2 separate regions of the Homo sapiens genome follow, and region 2 is linked to region 1. The links are contacts of gene promoters, found by promoter capture Hi-C in blood cells and fetal thymus (Javierre and others, 2016). All regions are on one chromosome and are shown on one strand. Each heading gives the region's core, a stretch centred on a gene start or on the middle of the fragment in contact. The rest is flanking DNA. Distances are from core to core; before and after follow the strand shown.

Region 1 (4,536 bases), core at 1,178-3,677:
GAATGTTTGTCTTGATAAATAAAATTCATAGAAAGCCATTGGTTTGGACTGAGCTCCTGCACTAGGCGCAACAGGCCAAACCAAAATAGAGTCACTCATGCTAAAGTTCCAAGCCACAAAGCCAAAATTAAGCTGCTCATCTGACCTTAGGAGAAATCAGAAGAGAGGGAAAATAGCCATATCCCCATGATAAAGGAAGTCCCTTCTGCCTTAACCAATACAAGTAAAATAACTTTGAAACTTGTTCTTTGTTTCTGCTTTTTTTTTTCAGCCCTTTTCTGTCTATAAAGATAATCTCCTCTGCTCAGCTCATCAGAATACTCATTCTATTTTATAGAATAAGGTGTTGCCTGGTGCTAGAATCGCAAATAGCCAGTTAAGATCTGTAACTGTGTTGTATTAAAGGAGAGAAGGTTAGCACTCCCTTTGACAAGGATGGAAGAGGCCCTTGGGCCTGACAACACGCATACGGTTAAGGCATTACCACCTACTTCGTGGGATCTAACCATCGTTTTTGAAATGGTGCTGGGAAAACTAGCTAGCCATATGTAGAAAGCTGAAACTGGATCCCTTCCTTACACCTTATACAAAAATCAATTCAAGATGGATTAAAGACTTACATGTTAGACCTAAAACCATAAAAACCCTAGAAGAAAACCTAGGCAATACCATTCAGGACATAGGCATGGGCAAGGACTTCATGTCTAAAACACCAAAAGCAATGACAACGAAAGCCAAAATTGACAAATGGGATCTAATTAAACTAAAGAGCTTCTGCACAGCAAAAGAAACTACCATCAGAGTGAACAGGCAACCTACAGAATGGGAGAAAATTTTTGCAATCTACTCATCTGACAAAGAGCTAATATCCAGAATCTACAATGAACTCAAACAAATTTACAAGAAAAAAACAAACAACCCCATCAACAAGTGGGCGAAGGATATGAACAGACACTTCTCAAAAGAAGACATTTATGCAGCCAACAGACACATGAAAAAATGCTCATCATCACTGGCCATCAGAGAAATGCAAATCAAAACCACAATGAGATACCATCTCACACCAGTTAGAATGGCGACCATTAAAAAGTCAGGAAACAACAGCTGCTGGAGAGGATGTGGAGAAATAAGAACACTTTTACACTGTTGGTGGGACTGTTAACTGGTTCAACCATTGTGGAAGACAGTGTGGAGATTTCTCAGGGATCTAGAACTAGAAATACCATTTGACCCAGCCATCCCATTACTGGGTATATACCCAAAGGATTATAAATCATGCTGCTATAAAGACACATTTACATGTATGTTTATTGCAGCACTATTCACAATAGCAAAGACCTGGAACCAACCCAAATGTCCAACAATGACAGACTGGATTAAGAAAATGTGGCATATATACACCATGGAATACTATGCAGCCATAAAAAATGATGAGTTCATGTCCTTTGTAGGGACACGGATGAAGCTGGAAACCAACATTCTCAGCAAACTATCGCAAGGACAAAAAAACAAACATTACATGTTCTCACTCATAGGTGGGAACTGAACGATGAGAACACTTGGACACAGGAAGGGGGACATCACACTTCGGGGCCTGTTGTGGGGTGGGGAGAGGGGGAAGGGATAGCATTAGGAGATATACCTAATGTAAATGACGAGTTAATGGGTGCAGCACACCAACATGGCACATGTATACATATGTAACAACCCTGCACGTTGTGCACATGTACCCTAGAACTTAAAGTATAATAATAAAAAATAATAAAATAAAGAAAAAAAATCTATAACTACATTTCTTGTAATTTTGTCTTTTGAGAGTATACATATCTTATTTCCTTTCCCAGACCAGAACCTCTTTGAGGGCAGGAGGAACCCGGTTTTCCCTACTTTACACATGACACATAATAACCACTCATTCAATGTAGGTTTACTGGATGGATAAATAGGAATGGGGGGTAGATAGGCGGGAGAGTGAGTAGACAAATGCGAAACAGGAAAAGCTTGCGCCAGGAAAAACAGTGAAGAGCGAAATCTCCAGACCCCCGATTAAATGGTTTAAAGTGAAGCCAAGCAAGAACCTCCAGTCCTCTCTGCGGCAGAGAACAGCAGATGATAGCGGCTCGCCTTCAACTTTGCTCTGAGGACCTCTCGTTAGTATCCCGCGATTGTCCTTCCTAACGCCTGACTGAATCCTGAGGCTAGCCTTCAGCGAACATGTACACCGCCTTGCCCTTCACGTGAAGCCGAGCCTGTGACTACACTTATCCTTCCGTCGCCGGCCTCATTTCTCCTTCCCCTTCTCCGATCTCGCAACCACTGCTAGTAAGGCGCGCGTGCGGGCAGCCCTGGCCGGCAGGGGAGGGAGGGTCCTGCGACCGGAAGCCGGAAACCGGAAGGGGGGCTGTGAGGACGTGTTCCGAGGAAGCCAGAGCCGGAGCCGTGGCCTGCGGGGCCGGCGACATGGATCCCCTGTTCCAGCAAACGCACAAGTGAGGGCCGGTCGGGGAGCGGGCAGGGGCTAGACGAGGCGAGGCCAGGTGAGCCTGGCTTCTGGGGCTGAGGCCTCGGACGTCAGCCAGGGTAGAGGCCGAGTTTTTCCGCCAGGGCACTGCTGGGGATGCCTCCGAAGTGCTTAATCCTTGGCGGGACTCCCAGGTCAGCCACAGACAGTGGGTTCAGGCTGGGGCCTGGAGACGTGGGGCAGATGACTCCTGGGGTCTGCAAGTTCGTGACTACCTGCTGGGTAGACTGGGTGACGGGAAACTGGCACCTGCAGGTTATAAAACTTTGTCCAGCACTTGTCAACTCGGTGCTCCTGGTTGGTAGACCTCGAGAGGAGACACGGAGTAGGAGACACGGCCCCTGGCCGTAGGAGTGTACTGTTTAATTGGAGAGTCAGGGCACGTACGGGAAAGTATTTGTATTCTTATTCGATTTATACTAAAGACCACATTTTTATGGTACAAAGAAATTGCTGTCCACGTAGCATTCACTATTATTACTTGTTAATCGTATCTGGTTACAGGTTATCGCTAAGAAAATCAAATTGTAATTTAGTTTCTCATAACTTAAATTCCTTGGTAGTGTCCTTTATTCGCATCGTCCTGCACTTTCGGAATTGCTGAGATACGTAGTTGAGTATTAATGGGGCCATACTTACCCTATTTTTGGGGGCGGGGGGCAGAATTATGATTTTTACCCTGTTTTGGAGGGACGGAATTTTATGATTTTTATTTTTTATTGTAAAATATACACAACATAAGATTTACTGTTTTAACAATTTTTAAGTGTACAATTCAGTGACATTGAGTACATTCACAACTTACATCACTACGATCCATTTCCAGAACTTTTTCATCATCCCAGTGTGCCTGTTAATCAGTAGCACTTCATTTCTTCCTTCCAGAACACCTAGTAACCTCTGTTTTACTTCTCTCTATGAGTTTACCTATTCTAGATACTTAATATAAGTGGAGTCATACAGAATTTGTCCTTTTGTATCTGGCTTATTTCACTTAATGTTTTCAGGGTTCATCTATATTGTAGCCTGTTACCAGAATTTCATTCTGTTTTATGACGGAATAATATTCCGTTTTATGTGTCTACCACATTTTGTTATCCATTCATCTGTTGATGGACACTTGAGTTGTTTCCACCATTGGGCTGTTGAGAATAATACTGCTATGAACTCTGGTGTAGAAGTATCTGTTTTAGTTTCTCTTCTCAATTTTTTGAGGTATATACCTATCCTATTGAGAACTTTCAAACTTATGCTGTAGTTTTGTTGATTAAAACACTTAAAATCACACTCCCAAGGCCTGGAAATGAAATGCCCTGAAGCATGAGGAATAAGAGGGTGATGATCCTCTTTCTCTTTCATTTTCTAAGTTTATGGGTTTCTTTTATTTTGGCGATGAGGTGTTTCATTTGGACAGGCGAAAATACAGAACCTACTTTGTAATGACAGAATTTTCTTTTACACTGGGGAGCCCTATTCTCACATAAACGTTATAGGAAGGGACTTAAAACTAGTCTGTGAGTAATTTAGAGAAAGAATGAAACGAAATTATGTTCATGTTACTAAGAAAGGGCCTATCTTTCACAATAGCAGGGCACAATGGGCATAGTAGTGCCTTGAAGTTAATCTGTTATGTATGGTCTTATCTAGTTAATTTAGTTAAAGGATGTTGCCAAGAAGGCCATGACCCATTTTATATTCAAGAATAACTTTATTTAGAGAGTCTTAGACTACCTGTTTTCAGTGCAGCTAATCACAGAGAAAACTGCATGGCTCAGAAGAGGAATTCTAAATGGTACCCCAAACAAGGTGTGTGGAGTGTAGATGCTCTGTAGGCCTCCAACAATGCACCCTTGGACTCTAGCAGCTTGCCAGTTTTTTCTATTAAGGGCCAGATAGTAAATATTTTAGGCTCTGTGGGCTATACGGTCTCTGTAGTTACTACTCTGCTGTTATATTGGGAAAACAGCCATAGACAATATGTAAACTAATTGATGTACCTGTGTTCCAGTACAATT
Region 2 (4,536 bases), core at 1,335-3,834, 77 kb before region 1:
CAGATTGGAAAGGCTTAACTAGTTTAAAACACATTCCCTATTCTTAAGTCCCCAACACTTTTTCAACCTCCTCTCACTCCAAAGTAGAACTTAATGTAGCAAAGGTATGCTTTGTAGGGTGAACCCTTATAATTATAATGACAACCAGTGGGAAAACTTGGTTTCCTTTCAAACGTTTGTGTGACTAATTAGGAGGGACTATTCCATTCGTTAAAGTGAAGAAAGAAGGACTGAAAAAAAAAATCACTCTGCAAAATCCAGCTCAAACATTGCTGCATCTCAGTTGCCATTGTCTTAGCTACCTCTTCCCTGGAACAATGAATTGATTGTCTTCTTTCCTGGGTTCCTGCCTCATTTGGTACTTTCTTCTCTTTACTGCTGCACAGTCGTTAAATATGTGTCTTTGGTGCCAGCTCCCTGGGTTCTAATCCCGGTTCTAAGCTTACTAGCTGGCCAGTTACTTGACTTCTCTGTGCCCATTTCCTCATTTGTAAAATGCTGTGAGCATTAAATGGGTTAACAGTTTTATAGGACTTAGAACAATACCTGGTGTAATGTAAGTGCTCAATAACTAGTTTACACTTATATAGATATGTCAGAATGCTCTCTGTATTTATTTATGTGTCTTTCCCAACAAACTGTGTGCTCCTCAAGGACAAGAACTGACTTCATCATCTCCTATTCCAGGGTTTAGCACCAGATGCTTATTCAAAGTATGTTAAACTGAATATTATGTATTCATACTTTATTATTATTTTTTCTAAGACAAGGTTCTTGCTCTGTTGCAGTTCTTGCTCTGGAGTGCAGTGGTGGCATCATGGCTCATTGCAGTTGCAACTTCCCATGCTCAAGAAATCCTCCCATCTCAGCCTCCAGGGTAGCTGGGACTACAGGCATGTGCCACAATGCCTGGCTAATTTTTTTTTTCTTTTTTGTATTAGCAGGGTCTCACTGTGTTGCTGAGGCTGGTCTTGAACTCCTGGCCTCAAGCAATCCTCCTGCCTCAGTCTCCCAGAATGCTAGGATTATAGGCATGAGCCACTGTATCCAGCCTATACTTTATATAAAGTAGAAAATATGCAGTGAGGTGGAGTTAGCCACCTTTTTTTTTTTTTTTTTTTTGATAAGTTAAGCCTCAGCTTACTGCTTCCCAGAGATAAACCAAGGTTCGAGTCTCTCCTTTGTTTAAAGAAAAACATCTGGCTGGGCCACTGCAGTCCTACCATGAGTTCAGGAAAACGTGCTATGGTCCAACTGTCTACCAGTCAGGACACAGTTAATGAGCACTTCCTGTAAACTTATTTGTACCTGCAGTTCTGATAATATGACCTGGAGGAAATGGTGTGGTGGTGGCCGATTTCTAAAACTAACTGCAAAGGATTGCATTCCTCTAGGCACCTATGAACTTCAAGATGGGACCCCTTTCCTCTCGTCCTTCTTTTTAGAGAGTTTAGAGAGCAAGAACTTACTCAGATGAAAACAAACTAAAAGATGTTGAGAATGCCTCTGTGCAGACCCAAATCTATAGGATGTTATTTATAGTAAATTATGGCATATTTTTAAACTTCTAGTCCCTAAGAAAGTTGTTTTCTTGCCTCCCTCCTTCCCTTCCTTCCTTCCTTCCTTCCTCTTTCTTCTTTCTTTCTTTTTTATTTTTTGGAGATGGAGTTTTGCTCTTGTTGCCCCAGGGCTGGAGTGCAATGGTGGGATCTCTGCTCACTGCAACCTCCGCCTCCCAGCTGCAAGCAACTCTCCTGCCTCAGCCTTCTAAGTAGCTGGGACTACCGGCATGCACCACCACACCTGGCTAATTTTTTGTATTTTTAGTAGAGATGGGGTTTCACCATGTTGACCAGTCTGGTCTGGAACTCCTGACCTCAGGTGATCCACTCGCCTCGGCCTCCCAAAGTGCTTGGATTACAGGCGTAAGCCACAGTGCCTGGTCTCCTTCCTCCTTCTTTTGAGCAGTATCCATAGCTATGTCCTGTGTGGAATGCCTTTCTGTTGTAAAACACCCCAACGTAGAGTCTTTCACTAGTGCTTTGCCCATAGGGGACTTCACGGTGGTTGAAGACAGAATGCCCTGCTGCTCCGTGCCACCTGCCCAGCCATCTCCTAGTCTCTAGGTCAGCTCACTGTATTCTATGCTCCTGGAAGTGGTAACCAGGGCTGGGGTGGGGGTTATATTCACGGTGAGCCCAGTGCCCAAACAGAGCTTGGACATATATGTCACCTGACATACATGAGTCGACTTACAGGGACAATGGAGTGAGTTATCTGAATTTTTTTTTTTTTTTTTTTTTTGAGACAGAGTCTTGCTCTGTCACCCTGGCCAGAGTGCAGTGGCACAATCTCGGCTCACTGCAACCTCTGCCTCCTGGGTTCAAACGATTTTCCTGCCTTGGCCTCCCGAGTAGCTGGGGACTACAGGTGCCCGCCACCACACCTGGCTAACTTTTGTATTTTTAGTAGAGATGGGTTTCACCATCTTGGCCAGGCTGCTCTCAAACTCCTGACCTTGTGATCCAACCACCTCGGCCTCCCAAAGTGCAGGGATTACACGTGTGAGCCACTGTGCTGGCTTTTTTTTTTTTTTTTTTTTTTTGAGATCAAATCTCGTTCTGTCCTCCAGGCTAGAGTGCAGTGGTGTGGTCTCCTTTCACTGCAAACTCCGCCTCCTGAGTTCAAGCGATTCTCCTGCTTCAGCCATCTGAGTAGCTGGGATTACAGGCACCTGCCACCAGGCCCAGCTAATTTTTGTATTTTCAGCAGAGATGGGGTTTTGCCATGTTGGCCAGGGTGGTCTTGAACTCCTGATCTCAGGTGCTCCACCCACTTCAGCCTCCCAAAGTTCTGGGATTATAGGTGTGAACCACCGTGCCCGGCCATGTTATCTGAAATTGAGAGTTCTCCTCCAGGTCACTACTTACTTACCTATAACTACTAGACAGAACTGGACTGCTCAAAGCACTCCTGCTAGTTTCAACCGTTTCAGTACAGATGGCTCATCCTGTCTCTCATGAACATTATAAAATCAGAGGCAGGGTTTGTAGCCATCAATAAGTCAGGTCTGACCTTCCACAGTCCAATGTTTATTCATTCAGTTATTCATTCATTAATTCAGTTATTTAACAATGTTTTTACTGTGGGCTGAAACTCAGTACCACTATGGGAGGAAGTGTGGGATAGAAAAGAAACAGGGGACAGGGTCTCAGATCTTGAGGTGTCTGCAGTCTACACATAGCAGGGATGCCTAATCTCCCAAACTCAAGGACAGTGTATATCAACATAGGCACTGGCACAAAGTACAGTTGTGCCAATAAAGGTTGTAGAACCAATGTGGTGAGTGAGCAGAGGCAGGAATTGTCAGTCAAGGTGGGGTTCCAGCTGCCCTTGGCCACAGAAGCATGGCTGGGTGGGGGGCCACCAAAGGGCTGCTTCTCTGCATTCAGCCTGCCTTGGCTGAACTCAAAGATGCTGCTGGATAAAGGGCTGGAGAATGGCCTTGAATAGGCAAGGGGCAAGAGAAGGTGGGTCCCACACCGTCCTCACAACACAATTCAAAGAGTTCTGTGAGGAAGAAGAGGGAGGGAGGGAGGAACAGAAGTGAGAAGGCCTCGAACTGGAAGTGCCATGGGGAGTGGTGAGCTCTGCCAGCTCTGGAGTGAGCTTCCCAAGATAGGACAGGGGCCCTTCCCGCAGAAGGACAGATGAGTGAAGGTCACAGAGGACTCCAGTCCAGAAATACTGCCCTGCCCCTCCCAAATACCTTTCCTGCAAATGCTTAAAGTTCCACCATTGGAGATGTATTGTTATGTATTTTTCTCCTCCCCACTTTCAGTAATTTTTTTCATTATAAATGTCAAACATTCTTGTCATAGAAAACTAGGAAAATGCAAGGAAGATAAAAACATTTCTTACCCCACACTCCCAACCTCCAAGGCAGCCCCTATTAACATTTTGGTGTCCTTCTCTGCCCCCTTTTTTGTCATTTTCAGGCATGGCTGTGAGTTCCCTGGAGGGGATTCTGAAGCCCACTTTCCCCACTTAGCTTCAGTCCTATTTCAGTCTGGTGTTCCAGAAAAATCAAGTCTTCCATCCCCGAGAGCCAGTGAGTTCTATGACCTTGAGGAAGTCATTCATCTTTCTGGACTTTAGTGCCCTCATCTGTATAATGGGGACAATCATGGCCCACATGCTACCTCACAGTGCTCCAGAGTCAATGCTAGTGCAATGTTGCAAGGGCATTGCCAATACAGTTCAAGTATGTGGGGCTAGGACTGATGGGAGTGGTCAGGACTCAGCCAGTCATCATAAGGCTATGACAAGAAGGCCAGGTCACCTGGAGGATGGGGAAGGACAGGGAGAGGGACAGGTGAGCCCACACCCACACCAGTCCTGTCCAGGCTCCCCAGGACCAGCCCTCCTGGGCAGCTGTGTGTCAGGTCAGCATGGGCACCTTCCCTCGGAGCTGCTGGGGCATCATCTGTTCCACTTCCTGTTGGGTCCAGAGTTCATTTCCAGTGCAGTTTGAGG

Evidence for each region. The method cuts DNA at HindIII sites, captures the fragments that hold promoters and counts their contacts. A CHiCAGO score of 5 or more calls a contact.
Region 2: a contact is called between a fragment that was not itself captured here and the fragment with the promoter of GOSR2 in region 1, in 6 of 17 cell types (megakaryocytes, endothelial precursors, M0 macrophages and 3 more). The highest score is 8.4, in megakaryocytes.

Annotation. Positions count from the first base shown.
Region 1 is chr17:46,920,733-46,925,268 of GRCh38, forward strand. It overlaps GOSR2 (golgi SNAP receptor complex member 2), which reads left to right and starts at 2,428. Exons shown (of 6, transcript NM_004287.5): 1 at 2,428-2,489. The coding sequence starts at 2,461. It overlaps GOSR2-DT (GOSR2 divergent transcript), which reads right to left and starts at 2,139. Exons shown (of 3, transcript NR_186460.1): 1 at 2,079-2,139. It also overlaps a transcript of LRRC37A2 not described here and the pseudogene RNU6ATAC3P. RefSeq lists an enhancer at 2,404-3,128. The HindIII fragment of the contact is 7,846 bases long and covers 1,999-4,536 here.
Region 2 is chr17:46,843,204-46,847,739 of GRCh38, forward strand. It overlaps a transcript of LRRC37A2 not described here and a transcript of WNT9B not described here. Among named protein-coding and RNA genes, the nearest start is that of WNT9B, 6.1 kb to the right of the region's middle. RefSeq lists a silencer at 1,681-1,846. The HindIII fragment of the contact is 4,291 bases long and covers 440-4,536 here.